Regions from separate parts of the Homo sapiens genome. Here regions 1 and 3 are each linked to region 2. Evidence: promoter capture Hi-C in 16 types of primary human blood cells and fetal thymus (Javierre and others, 2016). All regions are on one chromosome and are shown on one strand. The core of a region is centred on a gene start or on the middle of the fragment in contact, and the rest is flanking DNA. Distances in the headings are between cores, read along the strand shown.

Region 1 (3,651 bases), core at 454-2,953, 490 kb after region 2:
AAGGTTTTTTTGTTTTGGAGTGCAGTGGCACTATCATGGCTTACTGCAGCCTCAAGCTCTCCAGACTGAGGCGATCCTTCCACCTCAGCCTCCTGAGTAGCTGGGACTACAGGAATGTGCCACCATACCTGGCTAATTTTTGTATTTTTTGTAGAGATGTGGTTTCACCATGTTGCCCAGGCTGGTCTCAACTCCTGGACTCAAGCGATCCTCCCAAAGGGCTGGGAGTACAGGTGTGAGCCACTGTGCCTGGCCACGTCTAAGTACTTCGACATCTACTTCTGAACTGTATGGAGATTAAGTGTCAAAGGTGCAGCCAACATTCTTGGGCTTGGGTACCTCCTAAATAAGCCCATTCAGAATGGAGAGGGTTTCCTAAATCGTAGGGTCTCCAGGTCGTTTTGTAGCATTACAGTGGATTTGCTTTGTTTTCCCCTTTAAGATGTCTAAATTATTTTACTTAATTTTTGTAAAAGATTTTTGTCTTTAAATAGGTTCTTAGGCCTGGCGTGGTGGCTCATGCCTGTAATCCTAGCTCTTTGGGAGGCTGAGGCGGGAGGATCACTTGAGGCCAGGAGTTTGTGACTAGCCTGATCAACATAGTGAGACCCCCTCTCTACAAAAAATAATAAAAGGTATTAAGTGTTCATTTGTCCCCTTTATCACAATACAGCAGACAGAAGTTATCTGGCAACCTTGTGAGATGCAGCTAAAATAAAAAGGTGAAGCCAGTGTTGACAGAGTCTGGGATAGAGAAAATTCAGAGACAGTGATCTCACAGATCCCTGTGCTCCTTCCAAACACCCACGTTAGTGGCGTTGGGACGGCGCTTCCTAAATTTCCGTCCAACTCATCTGCTTGCGTCCGGACATTTGTTAAAAATATTTATTCCTGGCTGGGAGTGGTGGCTCACGCCTGTAATCCCAACTACTCAGGACTCAGGAGGCTGGAGCAGGTGGATCACTTGAACCAGGAGTTCGATACCAGTCCGGGCGACGGAGGGAGACCTCGTCTTTACAAAAAAAAAAAAAAAAAAAAAAAAATACAAAAATTAGCTGGGTATGGTGGCGCGCGCCTGAGTTCCCAGCTACTCAGGAGGCTGAAGTGGGAGGATTGCTTGAGTCCCAGAGGTCGAGGCTGCAGTGAGCCGAGATCGCGCTACTGCACTCCAGCCTGGGCGACAGAGTGAGACCCTGTCTCAAAAAAAATCCCCCAAAAACTGATTCCTGGGTCCTGCCCTAGACTAACTGACTCAGGATCTCCTGAGGTGGTACCTGGAAATCCGTCTTTTTTTTTTTTTTTTTTTTTTTTGGTTGAGACAGAGTGTCACACTGTCGCCCAGGCTGGAGTGCAGTGGCACGCTCACGGCTCTCTGTAGCCTTCACCTCCCGGGTTCAAGCGATTCTTCTGCCTCAGCCTCCCGAGTAGCTGGAACTACAGAAAATCTGCATTTTTTAAGCAAGCGCCGCGGACCGGTTGGAAACCACAGCCGGGATTTACACGCCCCTCGTTTACGCCAGCTTCACACCCGCTCACTAGTGCTCGCCCCTGTGCCTGCCATCGCTGCCTCACCCAGGCGCCGCCCTCCGGCCTCATCCGGGATCCGCCCCCTGCCTCATCCAGGCTTCGCCCCAGTCAGTCTCCGGCAGCTTCTCGCGGCTTCGCAAGCCCCTTCCCGTGATGCCCCGCGCCTGGCTGTCGCGGTTGCCGGGCAACGCGCTGTCCATGTCGCGGGCCTCGCTGGGACTCCCTGGGAGATGAGGCCGCGAGGTCTCCCGCCGCTCCTGGTGGTGCTCCTGGGCTGCTGGGCCTCCGTGAGCGCCCAGACCGATGCCACCCCGGCGGTGACGACAGAGGGCCTCAACTCCACCGAGGCAGCCCTGGCCACCTTCGGAACTTTCCCGTCGACCAGGCCCCCCGGGACTCCCAGGGCTCCAGGGCCCTCCTCCGGCCCCAGGCCTACCCCAGTCACGGACGGTGGGTACCATGTGCCAGCTCCTGGAGTCCACAGTGATCCAACCTCAAGGGGACAGCCCCGGTGAGGACGTAATAATGATAGCTAACTCTTATTGAGCACTTACTGTGTGCAGACACTGCTGAGTGTTCCATAAACGTCCATTCTCTAAACAATAACCCTGAGAAGTAGCTGTTACTATCACTGTCAGGTAAATGAGAAAACCGGGTCTCAGAGTTTAAGTGGAACGGTATCAAACCTTTGAAAATACTTGAAGTGGTCCCAGACAACAGTGATGCAAAGAGCAATAATGAATTCTTGCAGCCCAAGACGAAATTAAGTCGAGACAATGGTGGAAATTAGTGCCTTGGCTGCACTGAACTTTCACTTAAAGAGAGGCCAAAGGTCTATCTTACTAAATGTGACTATGTTAAGACCCTTCTCTGTTGACCTGAATTCTAAAAACCCAGGATTCCTCCTGTGTTGAATTGGAGGTGGAAAGCTATTGAGGGAGGGGTTATGCTCACTTCTTAGGAGTCATATGTAGGGATAATTAACATTTTTTTCAGAAAATGATTAATTCTAGAATTACACATTTAGTGGAAATATTTTATAATCTAATTTGACGTTTGGCTGGCGCCGTGGCTCACGCCTGTAATCCCAGCACTTTGGGAGGTCAACTCGGGTGGATTGCTTGAGGTAGGAGTTCAAGATCAGTCTGGTCAAAATGGCGAAACCCAGTCTCTACTAAAAATAGAAAAAATAGCCGGGCATGGTGTAATCCTAGCTACTCGGGAGGCTGAGGCAGGAGACTCGCTTGAACCCAGGAGGCAGAGGTTGCAGTAATTACCACTGCACTCCAGACTGGGCGACAGAGCAAGACTGTCTCAAAAAAAAAAATTGACATGGATGACTTCACTGAATGACTGTGACCCGCTAAGATTGAGTGCAAAACTTTGTGAATATGCCTTTTCCTGAGATGAGAGTTCATAGCAGCCGATTCTTAAAGTGGTTCATGATCTCAAAAAAAGTTTTTAAAATTTTCCGATTGTGTGAATTGAGAGTAACCCCAATAGATATGCAGTACTTTTAATCTTTTTTTATTCTTTTTTTGTTTTTGAGACAAGGTCTCGCTCTGTTACCCAGGCTGGAGTGCAGTGGCGTGATTATATCTCACTTAAGTCTCAATCTGCTGGGCTCAAGGGATCCTTCTGCCTCAGCCTCCAGAGTAGCTGGAACCACAGGCGTGCTCCCCCAGCTTGCTTTTTTTATTTTTTTATTTTTAGTAGAGATGAGATCTCGCTATGTTGTTCAGGCTGATCTCAAACTCCTGGGCTCAAGTGATCCTCCCACCTTGGCCTTCCAAAGTGCTGGGATTACAGGTGTAAACAACTGTGCCCAGCCTATCCCTTCTTAAGAAGATCTTTTCTCAAATTGATTAAGGCTCAGTATTAGTAAGTAAAAAAGTCATCAGCTGAGATCTTGAACTCTAGGACTTAACTGCGGTTACTGAACCTTTATTTCTCCAAAAGCTCTCCTTTCTGAATTACGAGTAATCTGAAAGAAAAAGTACAGAGAAATATATTTGCTATTTTAATATATAAACAGAGCTCTGTTTTATATTTAAATTGTTGATTTGATGAATTAGTAGGGAAGTTAAATCAGTGATAAACTGGGACAGAAGAAAGCCAAGTATT
Region 2 (3,847 bases), core at 28-2,527:
TTGAGCCCAGGAGGCGGAGGCTGCAGTGAGCCGAGATTGCGCCATTGCACTCCAGCCTGGGTGACAAAGTGAGACTCCATCTCCAAACACAAACACACACACACACACACACACACACACACACACACACACACACACACACAGAATCAGGGGGTGGTAGCCAATCTTCCTTTGGCCTCGGGGACCCAATATATGCAGTTCTCTTTTTTACTGTAAGTCGGAACATAAATTTTTCAATATACAGATTCCAGGAAGCATGCTGACTGGCTTCAAGTTCTTCCCCGTGTTCCAGAGCAACCATATTAAGCATAAAATCTATTCAAGTTTGAGTCCAAAGAGTGGATCCTCTTGCTTATTTGAATTTATACAGGATTGCAGTCTCATAACTGAAAGGTATAGTGTTTGTAGACCAGGGGCAACAGAGAGAGGAGGAACTAAAAGCTATTAGATAAACCACTCCTATCTAGGATTTCTATAGCCTATACCCATAAACCCTATAGAAGGTGCAAATCTAACCATCTTTTTTTTTTCTTTTTTCTTTTCTTTACTTTTTCTTTTTTCTTTTCTTTTCTTTTTTTTTTTTTTTTTGAGACAGAGTCTCACTCTGTTGCCCAGGCTGGAGTGCAATGGCGTGATCTTCGCTCACTGCAACCTCTGCCTCCCAAGTTCAAGTGATTCTCCTGCCTCAGCCTCCCACGTAGCTGGGATTACAGGCATGCACCACCGCACCCAGTTAATTTTTGTATTTTTGATAGAGATGAGGTTTCACCTTGTTGGCCAGGCTGGTCTTGAACTCCTGACCTCAAGTGATCGGCCCATCTCAGCCTCCCAAAGTGCTGGGATTACAGGCATGAGCCATTGTGTCTGGCAAACCATCTTATTTTTAAAGTTTTATTCAAAAAATTCTTTTACTTCTTTTTTTTTTCTTTTTTCTTTTCTTTTTTTAAAGATGGGGTCTCACTGTTGCTCAGGCTGGACTTGAACTCCTGGGCTAAGACTGTCCTCCCACCTCAGCCTCCCAAAGTGCTGAGATTACAGGCATGAGCCACCATGTACATGCCTCATTTTTTTAAAAAGAAAAAACATAAATGTCTTCAGTGCCTCCCAATGTTGGGCACTGTTGTAATCACTTTACCTGTATCAACTCCCTTAATCCTCATGTCAACCCTATTGAGGAAGGTTTTATTATAGCCACGTTTTACAGATGAGGAAAGTTTAGCAAGATAAAGAGAGGGTACACAATGGCAGATGCAGAATTCAAACCCAGGTAGCCAGGGATGTCTCCTAACACACCCAACAGGATCAATGAATTATATAATCCCTTCTACAAATCTTGTATTGTTTCTGTCAGTATTATGTAAGTTATTTAATTCTTTGAGGTTTTGAGTGTTGCTTCCCCTAATTGGTTGTGGGGTGGGGCCAGTTTTAGTTTCTCTCCAGGAGCCCTGCAGGGTACCTACGCTTGATATTTCAACAGTCAGAGGGCAGCCAACAAAGGGACTGGTCTTGGAATGTTGTGTTGCCTCTGCCCAAAACACTCTCCCTTTTCCTGTTTGGCTAATTTTTACTGATCCTTTTTAAGAGATGGGGGTCTCCTTCTGTTGCCCAGCCTGGAGTGCAATGGTGCCACCCCTGACCAATTTTTGCTTTTAATTTTTTGTAGAGAAAGGGTCTTGCTCTGTTACCCAGGCTGATCCTGAACTCCTGGGCTCAAAGTTATCTTGTTGCCTTGGTCTCTCAAAGTGCTGAGATTACAGGCGTGAGCCACGGTGCCAGGCCTAATTTTTACTGATCCTTAAACATCACTCCATTTGACAGAAACTTTCCTGATGGTATGGCCCCTTTGGCACCACCCTCCCCAAATAAACTTGAGGCCCTTAATCTGGGCTCCTAATCATTGGCTTCTCTTGTTACAGCATTTATCTCAATTGTATTGGTGTTGCCCCTTTAATAATCTCTGCCGGCACTAGACTGTCAGCTCCATCAGGGCAGGGGCCAGGTAAGTCCTGCCCTTCTGCATTTCCAGCAGCCTGTACAGTACAGGGCATATAGGAAATGCCTAATACGTAATCTGTTATTTTTTGTTGTGGTAAGTCTGATGCTAAAGCTATAGTTGGTTTCTCCTATGCTGTTTGAGCAGGCAACTAAGTTTTCAAGGTATCAATAATTTGATTTTTTTTCCTTCTCTTTCTTTCATTGCCAGCTGATATCACTAAGTATCGTGGTCTCTAGTCTAATAGAGGTTGGTTCAAAATACCATTTGCCAACTAAGGTCTCCCACAAACCAGCTAGTGCAAATTCCAGTAGACTTTTAAACCTCATCAGTGACTGGGCACAAAGATCTCCCTGCGTCCTGCGTGGGATGTGAACTCCATGAAGACCACAAGGAGGATTTAATTTATTTCTGCAGTCACCTAAAGAGAGCCCACTCAGAAGCCAAAGGAACATTAGGACACTTAGTTCTCCCACACCCCCTTTCAGGCTCTCAGCATACTCAAAACGTATTGGGTTTAAAAAAATTTAATTCCCAGTACAGGCAATGTGGCCCAGTAATGTGACACAGAAGCTGAAATCTCTATGATGAATGTGTCTTCTTTTAATCCTGCCAGAGCCTCACTACAATTGTTCCTATGCATAACCTAATTTGGAGATACTTATGTCAAAAACCTAAATTTGAAGCACTGGCCAAATGCTTGCTCATCCCAACCCCCCTACCACCCAGCCCTGCCTCAAAAACAAACAAAAATCATCACCCACGTTTGGCGCATGAATGCATGCATGCATGCATGAATGAATGAATGAATGAAACATCACACGCATTTAACATAGGTTAATCATGCAGAGAGTATTTTGTAAACTGCGAAGTGCAGGACTTTCGGGAAGCTTATTGTAGCGCGTCTAGGTCGGAGTAACAGTCCCAAATGCCCTCGGCTGTCTGCAGTGGCTCAGCACGTGGGCCCGCTTTGCAAGTAAGCCCGGCTCCCGTCCGCCCCGTCCGCCCCGCCCCGTCCCGCCCCGTCCCGTCCGCTCCGCCCCGCCCCGCCCCGTCCGCTCCGCCCCGCGCCCGTCCTCCCCGCCCTGGCCCGGCCCCGCCCCCCAGCTCGTGCGCGCGCGCGCGGGAGAGCGGCCGCTCGCCCGGAAGTGACGTAACTCTACGGCCTAGCAACCGTTGCCAAGGAGCTCGACTCTGGGAGCGGTCTAGAGCCCGGGCGCCTCCTGGGGGGTGGGGAAACGGTTTCGTGAGGAGAATTTGAGGTAACCTCGCCAACTCGCGGTCGGAAGCTCCTCTGAACCCCGAAATAGGAGAGAGCTCCCGTCCTCTCTCGGTCCTGATGCAGCACCTCGCAAGTGGAAGGGGTCGTCGCGGTTAAGCCCCCGGATAGGGGAATCGGGCCCCTTCTGGGATTCGAGCGGATCCAGGCCGCTCCCTGGAGGGATGAACTGTCGAGGGGCCCAGGGCAGCCCCCGCTAGAGGCCCGGTCGGGTGTGGGGTCCCCTGTCCCCTGTCCCGAGCCCGGGGAGGGGGACACTATTTCTGGTACTCCCAGGAGGCTGCGGGTCGATGCTCGTGCCAGCCTGGGACCCAGGCAGCACGGTTTCTCTCCCAAATTGTGCCAGAGAACACGCACGTCCTGGTTTTCATTGTTCCCCGCCTCCTGCGACTCGTTTGTGGGTGAGTGCTTGGGAATTAGCGCGGCGACTTCGCGCTAGAAGAGGGACAGTAATTGCTTTTGCTAATTTTAGAGCGCAGAGCCCGCTGGGCACAGACAGCCTTCCTGTTCAGTACATCTTTGTCCTTATCGAGTGACCATTTTTGCAGGCTGGTGGGCGACTTGGGGGGAACCCA
Region 3 (3,485 bases), core at 4-2,503, 380 kb after region 2:
CTTTTTAAGAGTCAAAGGCACCTTTGAAAATATGATTACAGGCCGGGCGCGGTGGCTCACGCCTGTAACCCCAGCACTTTGGGAGGCCGAGGCGGGTGGATCATCTGAGGTCGGGAGGTAGAGACCAGCCTGACCAACATGGTGAAACCCCGTCTCTACTAAAAATACAAAAATTTAGACGGGCTTGGTGGCGGGCGCCTGTAATCCCAGCTACTCGGGAGGCTGAGGCAGGAGCTGAGGCTTGAACCCGGGCGGCATTGCAGTGAGCCGAGATCGCGGCATTGCACTCCAGCCTGGGCGACAGAGCGAGACTCCATCTCAAAAAGAAAGAAAGAAAATATGATTACAGCTCTGAGTCCTCTCTAGTAGAGGCCCCCAGTTTTTATGTAGGAAGGTCTGAGGGGCACCAAACTACTGGGGGTGAAGGGGTGATTGCTTGAAGGTGGCTGGGGGAGACTAGGTAAGTCTCCAACACCGGCACTCTCCCCAGAAAAATGTGTATATTCACAAAAATTTCCCAACAGTTTCAATGAGTTCACACATCATTAAGGAATCCTACCCTAAAGAGGCGTAGCAACCCGTGGAAAGAAACAGTTCCAGCAATTGCAAGCGCCAAATCCCGCCCTCTGAGAGCACACCTGCTCATCTCAATGGCAGCTAGATGTTATTTCAGGAGCGAGGAGGGTGGTTTATTCCCTTTCCCTAGATGGCAAAGTTAAACGGGTACGAAATTCTGCTCGCTACTTCCTGTTCTGCATTCGAGAGGCCAGCTTCCACCACTACACCCCAACCAGCGGGAGGTGCTTTTTGCGGGAAACGAGTAGGAACCGTCTGGAAACGGAGGACCGTGCCCCTATCCCCGGAACATTCGAGGTATAGGACCAAAGGCCTTCCCTGGCTCGGGCGTGCGTGTCTCGTGACAGGTCGGGCTGCTAGAGGGGCCTTTTTACCCCTTGGATGGCCTCTGGCCCCTTGGGGCCGGGATACGAGACCTAGGCCAGCCGCACCCAGAGGTGGCCGCTCCCTTCCTTCCCTAGACCTCTTCTGGGCCTTTCCCAGGCCAGCGCCTGGGCCCTGACGCCGAGGCCTCCGGGATTTCCCAATTCCTCGCCCTCGGCCTCCCCACGGCTCCCAACAACGCAGCACCCCACCCGAGAGCCAGGCCTTGGTCGCCGCAACTGCAGCCCTCACCATCCTGTCACCGGGCTCCGCTCAGTCACCACCACCGTCGCCGCCCTCTTCCTCAGGCTCCTCGGCGACCCGCCCACTTAACCGCAACCAATGAGAGCAGAGGGAGACAGAAATTGCCGTACGGAGGCCCGCACGGACCCTTCTCCGCCGTAAAGCCGTTTGGGAACTTGTGGAGGCGGGGTGGTAGAGTGCAGAGACGAGATCGCGAAGCTTTGAAAAGCGCGGGCAACATCCGGGCACCTGGGCCGTCGAGCTGAGGCGCGCCTTCCGAGCCTGCTTTTTAGGGCGGATGGCAGCCATGCTGAAGTGCGTGATGAGCGGCAGTCAGGTGAAAGGTGGAGCGGCCTTTGTTGTCTTCCCATTTAGCAGAGAGAAAAGCAGACGTTAATAGGTCGTCCCTACCATTGTCTAATTTTTCCTCTTTGCCTTTTTGCGCAATGACTGAGGACGCACGCCCTGGCCACAGCCCCACCCACTCAAGTCCCTGTTAACTTCTGAGGGGAGGATGAGGACCCATCTCGTGTGACTTAGAGGCAGATGTAATATGGGTGGTATCCGGGAAATAGAGTTGTACCATCGGGCCACAAACTCGGGATGCTGAGGACTGCATGGGGAAGAGTTGAGAGAAAAAAATAATGCTTGGACAGTAAAAGTATTTTTGTGCCAAGAGAACAGCATTAACCTGGTTTTTTTTTTCCCCAGATTCTACCATTTTTAAAAATGTATGAACTTGGAAAAGTCACTAAATCTCTTTGGGGCTCAGTTTCTAAAACGGAAACAGGGGTAATGACAGCACCTTCGTCACAGAGTTTGTTTGGAGGCAATGAAATGGAAATGCGTGTAAAGAGCCCAGTAATAGATGGAATGTACAAGAACTATTAGTGTTGTAAACGGCGCTTTCAAAATGGAAGTTAGGCCGGGTGCAGTGGCTCACGCCTGTAATCCTAGCACTTTGGGAGGCCAAGGCGGGTGGATCACCTTAGGTCGGGAGTTCGAGACCACCCTGACCAACATGATGAAACCCCGTCTCTACTAAACATACAAAAATTAGCCGGGCTTAGTGGTGGGCGCCTGTAATCCCAAGCTACTTGGAAGGCTGAGGCGAGAGGATCGATTGAGCCCGGGAGGTTGAGGCTGCAGTGAGTTGAGCTCGTGCCACTGCACTCCAGCCTGAGTGTCAGAGTGAGACTCTGTCTCAAAAAAAATAAAAAATAAAAAGAACATTAACAATGTCGTACGGGATCAGACTAGTGTGTTTTCCAGCCCTAAATGTGTTCTGTGGTGGGGAAATCTGGCTGCCCTCAAACATCAGAGATGTATGTTGGATACCCCTAATTTCTCTCTCATGACTTGTTGTGACTTGGCTATCAAGCTATTAAAACCACTTCAGATTATCTTCTCCATGCACTGTTTTCACAGTTTTTGGGGGGTCAAATACATTTATCTAAATCAAGTTGTAAAATACATTAGTATGGAAATTGGTTTGCACAGTAGCTCCATGCAACACTGTAAACATATAGAAGGACAAATTTCGGTCAATTTTATCATTTCACACACTACAAATTTATTGAGCCCTGACTATGTGTCTGGCATTTTGCCAAGGGTATTATACTGTATTAAAGTAATGTAGCATTAGTCTGTAAGATACTGTTATTTTTGAATTTCTCTTGAGTCCTCTGAATGCTGAACTAGTCTTGTGATTTGTTTTTATTGTTAGAGGGAAAGAATATAAGCATCACCTTTCTTTTTCTCCATAGTATTTGGGAAAGCAGTTCAAGCTCTATCACGAATTAGTGACGAGTTCTGGCTAGACCCATCTAAAAAAGGTGTAAGTAAGAAAGTTAACAGATCACGTATCAAGGCAAGAGGAGATGTTTAAAGATCCCAGTCCAGATTGAATGTTAACTAGGAAATCCAGAAATTGTAATTATCCCTTTCACTGTTTATCTTTATTTTACATATCTGAATACACTTAGAGCATGGTAAAGTTGAAAATATGCAGATAAGCTTGATTGATTTAAACTGGAAGTCACAAACTGGTAGTTAAGAGACTAGCTACGGTCTGCAGGAATGTTTGTTGGCCTGCACTGTTTTTTTTTTTTTTTAATTTGAAATAATTTCCAACATTTAAAAATTGAGGCCGGGCGCGATGGCTCACGCCTGTAATCCCAGCACTTTGGGAGGCCGAGGTGGGTGGATCACCTGAGGTCAGGAGTTCGAGACTAGCCTGGTCCACATGGTGAAACTCCTTCTCTACTAAAAATATAAAAATTAGCCTGGCATGGTGGTGGGCA

The links. The method cuts DNA at HindIII sites, captures the fragments that hold promoters and counts their contacts. A CHiCAGO score of 5 or more calls a contact.
Region 1: the fragment with the promoter of TCTN1 here is called in contact with a fragment that was not itself captured in region 2 in 2 of 17 cell types (fetal thymus and total CD8 T cells); the score reaches 5.8 in fetal thymus.
Region 3: the fragment with the promoter of VPS29 here is called in contact with a fragment that was not itself captured in region 2 in 1 of 17 cell types (fetal thymus); the score reaches 5.3 in fetal thymus.

Annotation. Positions count from the first base shown.
Region 1 is chr12:110,612,426-110,616,076 of GRCh38, forward strand. TCTN1 (tectonic family member 1) reads left to right here and starts at 1,704. Exons shown (of 15, transcript NM_001082538.3): 1 at 1,704-1,977. The coding sequence starts at 1,758. RefSeq lists an enhancer at 1,981-2,030. The HindIII fragment of the contact is 6,908 bases long and covers 1-3,651 here.
Region 2 is chr12:110,121,189-110,125,035 of GRCh38, forward strand. IFT81 (intraflagellar transport 81) reads left to right here and starts at 3,169. Exons shown (of 19, transcript NM_014055.4): 1 at 3,169-3,673. RefSeq lists a silencer at 2,983-3,252. The HindIII fragment of the contact is 3,207 bases long and covers 1-2,881 here.
Region 3 is chr12:110,500,858-110,504,342 of GRCh38, forward strand. VPS29 (VPS29 retromer complex component) reads right to left here and starts at 1,254. Exons shown (of 4, transcript NM_016226.5): 1 at 1,192-1,254. The coding sequence starts at 1,194. RAD9B (RAD9 checkpoint clamp component B) reads left to right here and starts at 1,474. Exons shown (of 11, transcript NM_001286535.2): 1 at 1,474-1,526; 2 at 2,949-3,019. The coding sequence starts at 1,481. RefSeq lists an enhancer at 1,083-1,222. The HindIII fragment of the contact is 1,449 bases long and covers 1-1,399 here.